2 separate regions of the Homo sapiens genome follow, and region 1 is linked to region 2. The links are contacts of gene promoters, found by promoter capture Hi-C in blood cells and fetal thymus (Javierre and others, 2016). All regions are on one chromosome and are shown on one strand. Each heading gives the region's core, a stretch centred on a gene start or on the middle of the fragment in contact. The rest is flanking DNA. Distances are from core to core; before and after follow the strand shown. Region 1 overlaps CASK (calcium/calmodulin dependent serine protein kinase). Region 2 holds the start of MAOA (monoamine oxidase A).

Region 1 (2,700 bases), core at 47-2,546, 1.9 Mb after region 2:
AAAAGAGGCTCCCTTAGCCATAGCATTTACTACAGCCAGAGTAATGGATGTATTCAGTGAGTGAATATCTCAGTCATCATAAAGCCAGTCCCACATGGTCTACATAGGAAGCAAATGAGCTGCTGCTTCAGGGTACACCACTTGGCATTTATAGGTGAAATTGGACAGTCCCCTTCTCAGGGTAAACAGGTCCAGTCCACCACGCTGGCCATTCCCTTGGAAATAACCTCCTGTGTGTCTGGAAATCTACCTTTCCATCTGTGATTGTTCAATAATGAACTGCAGGTCCTACCTCAACCAAACATGCTCTTCCACTCTTGAGCATTTAAAACCAAAGAAACTGCTCTGACAGTTCCTTCACAGTATACCCTCCAGTTTCAATAGTTTATCAGTTTTACCCTTTCCCCACATTGACTACCCTTCTTGATAACCACAGGTTGTGTAACTGTCCAGTGGGTTCATCTTGCCCGCTGTCTAGACAGAGCTGATTTATCAATACAGGGAAATTGCAATAGAAAAAAAGTAATTCACGCAGAACCAGCCGTGCAGGAGAGCGGAGTTTTATTATTACTCACATCAGTCTCCCAGAAGACTCGGGGATCAGAGATTTTAAGGATAATTTGGTGGGTAGTGGGCTGTGAATCAGGAGTGCTGATTGGTTGGCTCTGGAATGAAATCATAGGGAGTCAAAGCTGTCCTCTCATGCTGATTCAGTTCCTGGGTAGGGGGCCACAGAACTGGTTGGCAGGTCCAGGTGGGGCCATCCAGTTGTTAGAAATGCAAATACCTGAAAAGATATCTCAAAAGGCCAATCTTAGGTTCACGATAGTGATGTAAGTTGCAAATCTTATGACCTCCAGAATAATGGCTGGTAACATTTAGAATTCCAGCCCCTCTCATCCGTACTTGGTGGCTGGTGGCCTTTCATTCGTTTTACAAGAACAGTTTAGCTTTTGGGAAGGGCTATTATTTAAACTATAAATTAAATTCCTTCCCAAGGCTAGTTTGGCCTATGCCCAGTAATGGACAAGGACAGTTTAGAGGTTAGAAGCAAGATGGAGTTGGTTAGGTCTGATATTTTTCACTGTCATAATTTCCTTAGTTACAGTTTTGCAAAGGCAGTTTCAATCGTAAAGGTACTTCAGTGTCCTTGCATAATTTTTCCTTGGGGGTCAGCTTTGAGGCTAGTGGCCTGGGCTCAGACAGACAAAGTCTAACCTAGCATTCTCCTTTAATTTCATTTAGCTATTAGAGATAAACACCAAAGAATTTAGTATTTCACTTTTTCATATTAGTCTGCATACCCTCATGCAACCAGTGAACCAACTCCCCGGGAGTTGCATCCATCTCTGAATTCCACCAGTAACTTTTACCTTTAGTAGCTGATTGCAGCACAGCTGCAGCTCAAAACAGTGGGAAACCACATGGCCACCCAGGAATCAAAGATTCCTCATCTCCCACCTTTTTGACGCAGGATTTTTCTTGGCCACTTTGCCAATCAGGGACCTCCATGGCCAGCAACGCCCCCCTACCTGGCCTTTGCTTGGCCATGGGCCTGCTGAGGCGTCAGGCCCACTCACCCCACCTGTGCTATGGCTTGTACCTGCGTTCAGCAGTTCCCAAGCTCCTGTCCTTATCCACGAAGAATGAGGATACGCTGACAATTTGAAGGGTGAGGATGGGTAGGGAAGAATTTTATTGAGCAGCAGAACAGCTTTCAGCAGAGAGGGGACACGGGTGGCCCCCCCACCCCTGCAGTCGGGTGGTTTGTCTCTCTCAGTGTGGCTGGGTCCATGGTATTTTATGGATTCAGAATGGGGCATGTGTGCTGATTGGTTTGTGAGTATGCAGAAAAGGTTAAAGCGAAGACACCACTCAAAGGTGGGCACAACAGTGTAGAAAACCAATTAGGGAAGGGTAGGTATATGTAAAATAGGTGAGGGGCGGGGATCAATCAGAGGAAAGCACACCAAACAGGAAGACAGGTTCTCAATCCAGTCCATGGATTTACCCGGGACATGTAGGTAGGCTTTAAACTGTCTTCAGCTTGAAGGTCAATTTCACTGAGGACTCGCCCCTATCTGTCTAGGCATTTTGTCTGCCTCCTGCTGCTGTCACTTTCATTCTTTCTCTTCCCAAACCACATGTTTCTGTGAGCCAAGTCCATTCTAGCAAACCCTACCTCACTGAAACCAATTCATAGTTTGGAAGGAAAACAAAACTCACAAAGTACTTTTCTACTCTTTCAACAACAATTAACACAGATGATTTCTGTGACCAAATGTGTGGGGATTTCTCCCCAACCAACAAGCAAGCAAGCAATTCTGCAGTTGACACCAGCTAGGTGTCCTCTAATTCAGTTATGTTCTGACACTATGTACCTAGAGATAGCATCAGATTCCACAGGTTGAGGGCTTAGTCCCCAAGACTGGCCCCCACCTTTAGATGCCAATGGCTAGCCCCAGGCTGTGTCACCTATGCTTCTGACTGACTAGCTATAAATCAGGGATCCCACGGCTCCCTCTTTGGGCCCAATTAATTTGCTAGAGCGCCTCACAGAACTCAGGGAACCAGTTACATATACCCGTTTATTATAAAGGATACAGATGAAAAGATGCATAATCCTGGGGCACGGAGCTTTCCTGTCCTCTCTGGACAGAGGCACCACCATCTGGGAAACTCCACAAGTTCAGCTATCCA
Region 2 (2,700 bases), core at 185-2,684:
CCTCCCATCAGCTTTCTCTTTCTGAATCAGATCCTGCAGGGATAACTCAGAAATTATTAACACCTAGTAGGGGGAGGATAGGTCAGTGTGGTATTCTAGCCAGGGATGAAAGGCAACAAAATTCCTAATTTTCAAACATTTTACCAATGATGGCAACATAGGCGACAATATATCAATCATGATGAGGCTTCCAGGAAGATATTGGAAAGCCTCATGCACCACTCACTTGGTTAGCCACAAATCCAAGCCAGGACCAGGGGCACCCTGGCCCACCAACTGGCTCATCAGAAGACAAGATTCAGGTGGTGGGAGCTCTTAGTGAAAGGAGGAAGGAGGATACAACAGGGCACTCAGCCCCTGCTTCATAAAGGGATTCTCTTTGGACAATAAATGTCCTACACCTTCCTGCAAGTTCATATATATATATACACACACACAGTTCATATATATATATATATAAACACAGTTCATATATATATATATAAACACAGTTCATATATATATATAAACACAGTTCATATATATATATAAACACAGTTCATATATATATATAAACACAGTTCATATATATATATAAACACAGTTCATATATATATATAAACACAGTTCATACACACACACACACACACACACACACACACACACACAGGAATAGTTTAAGAGCTCACCCCCTCTTCTCCTCTTTTTTTTTTTAACCTTTTCTTAAAGGAGTCTACCTCCTTCCTCTTCACCTACTAAATTTTCTACGGAAAATAGAGAAGAGCAGGACTGGAATAACACTACTGCTCCCTCAATACTACAGAAATCTGTATCCTGATGTTCTGTTTAGGGCAAAGGATATGAAATCAGTGAGGCAAAGCAGCCACCTCAGGAATTAGTACTGCAGGTCTTAAATGGGAGAAAATCGTTCAGCCACTTACAAGCTAGGTGATTCGACCTCAAGAGAGTTATTGAAACTCCCCAGACCTCAGTTTCTTGGTTTTGCAAAACGGGGATGAATTTAGTTCCCACCTCACAGGACTGTTGAGGACTGAGAAAATCCACGTAAAGTGCTAAATACAACTGCACAGCAAGAGCTAATTAAATATTAGTATTTAATAGTAGTAGTAGTAAAATTATTGTGTCTGCCTCCCCCAGTCACACCACCAGCAAAACTGGCACAACCCCCACTCCTACCTCGCAGGATATGGGGCCAAGCCATGGCTACACTACACTCTCGCATGCATGAGAGACCCCCAAACACCACAAGAGCTACTGTAGGTTCCCCTACCCCTCACTGGCCAGGGTCCCCCAGGCCACCGCTACGGTCCACACTGACCTGAAATGCCACCTCCGATCACGACTACGTCGAACATGTGGCCCGCGATACTCGCCTTCTCTTGATTCTCCATGCTTTGGCTGACACGCTCCTGGGTCGTAGGCACAGGAGTGGGGACGGCAAAGGGTGGGAAGGACCCTTCTATCAACTCCCCCGGGGAGCCCGGGGGCGGAGCCGATCCTTCTTTTGATACCCGGGGGGAGCCGGGCACTGTGGGCGGGGCGAACCCTTTTGCTGATACTCCGGGAGCGCCCAGGGGCGGAGCTGATGTTTCAGCTGATACCCGGGGGGAGCTGGGCACTGAGAGCGGGGCGGACCCTTGTACTGACACTCGGCGAGAGTTATTAGGTTTAGAATGTCCTTGTGTCGGCAGCTGGAAAGGATTACTGGGTGCAGGAGGTTCTTGTATTGAACCCCGCGGAGTGTCAGGCACTGAGGTGGGGGTAGACGCCTGCCTTGACACTGGGGGGATGTTATGGGGTGCAGGAGGTGCTTGTGGCGACACTGGGGAAATGTTATTGGGTAGAGGTGGTCCTGGTACCAAACCCCAGGGGAAGCTGGACACTGAGGATGCGGCAGACCCTTGTACTGACACTCGGGGGTGTTACTGGGTGTAGGAGGTGCTTGTATTGACACTTGCGAAAGGTCATTGGGTATAGGAGGTCCCCGTACAAATATCCAAGTGTAGTCGGACACTGAGGTCAGGTTGGAATCCGGGGGCAGGGTCGGTCCTTTTACCAAACCCCGTGGGGTGCTGAACCCTGAGGAGAAGGCAGACCCTTGCAATGACTCTACGGGGGAGTTTACGGGCGGGGTAGGTCCTGTTACTAATACCCAGGGAATGCCGGTGTCCTGATTGGAGGCTGTGACGGCCCCATCGGAGGAGTTCGAGCTGGTGGTAGACTTGGGGATCCGACTGCTCGGGTTGTAAGCGCTGAAACCCCGGAGGCCACTCTTGGAGTCGGAGTCAGTACTCTCGCTAAGACCGGTAGTGCTGATTGGGGAGTGTATGCTGGAGCTCCAGGAGGCGGCCTCGGCAGTTGAGGACGTGCTCCACTGGGAACTGGCTAGCGGATCCGAGACGGACCGCCACTCAGAACGGACGCTCCATTCGGACAGGCTGTAGGAGGTGTCGTCCAAGCTGGAGTCCGGGTTCGGGACCTGGGCAGTTGTGCCCCCGGCTTCGGGCGGGCCCTCCGCCTTGCGCTCGGTGCCGGTGCCGGTACTGGTGCGGGTACTGGTGCCGGTGCCGGTACTGGTGCGGGTACTGGTGCCGGTGCCGGTACTGGTGCGGGTACTGGTGCCGGTGCCGGTGCCGCCGGGGAAGGAGGCTGAGGCGTTTGTGCTCATGTTTCTGGAGCACGCTGGGCGCTGGGGGCGGT

Evidence for each region. Contacts are between HindIII fragments. The CHiCAGO score rates a contact against its expected background, and 5 or more counts as called.
Region 1: a fragment that was not itself captured here is called in contact with the fragment with the promoter of MAOA in region 2 in 2 of 17 cell types (naive CD8 T cells and naive B cells); the score reaches 5.6 in naive CD8 T cells.

The regions. Positions count from the first base shown.
Region 1 is chrX:41,710,892-41,713,591 of GRCh38, reverse strand. All of the region lies in intron 5 of CASK (calcium/calmodulin dependent serine protein kinase), which reads left to right. Among named protein-coding and RNA genes, the nearest start is that of GPR82, 12 kb to the left of the region's middle. RefSeq lists enhancers at 1,080-1,580, 1,581-2,081. The HindIII fragment of the contact is 3,582 bases long and covers 1-2,700 here.
Region 2 is chrX:43,655,033-43,657,732 of GRCh38, reverse strand. MAOA (monoamine oxidase A) reads right to left here and starts at 1,434. Exons shown (of 15, transcript NM_000240.4): 1 at 1,319-1,434. The coding sequence starts at 1,391. RefSeq lists an enhancer at 2,541-2,600 and a silencer at 2,532-2,700. The HindIII fragment of the contact is 10,667 bases long and covers 1-2,700 here.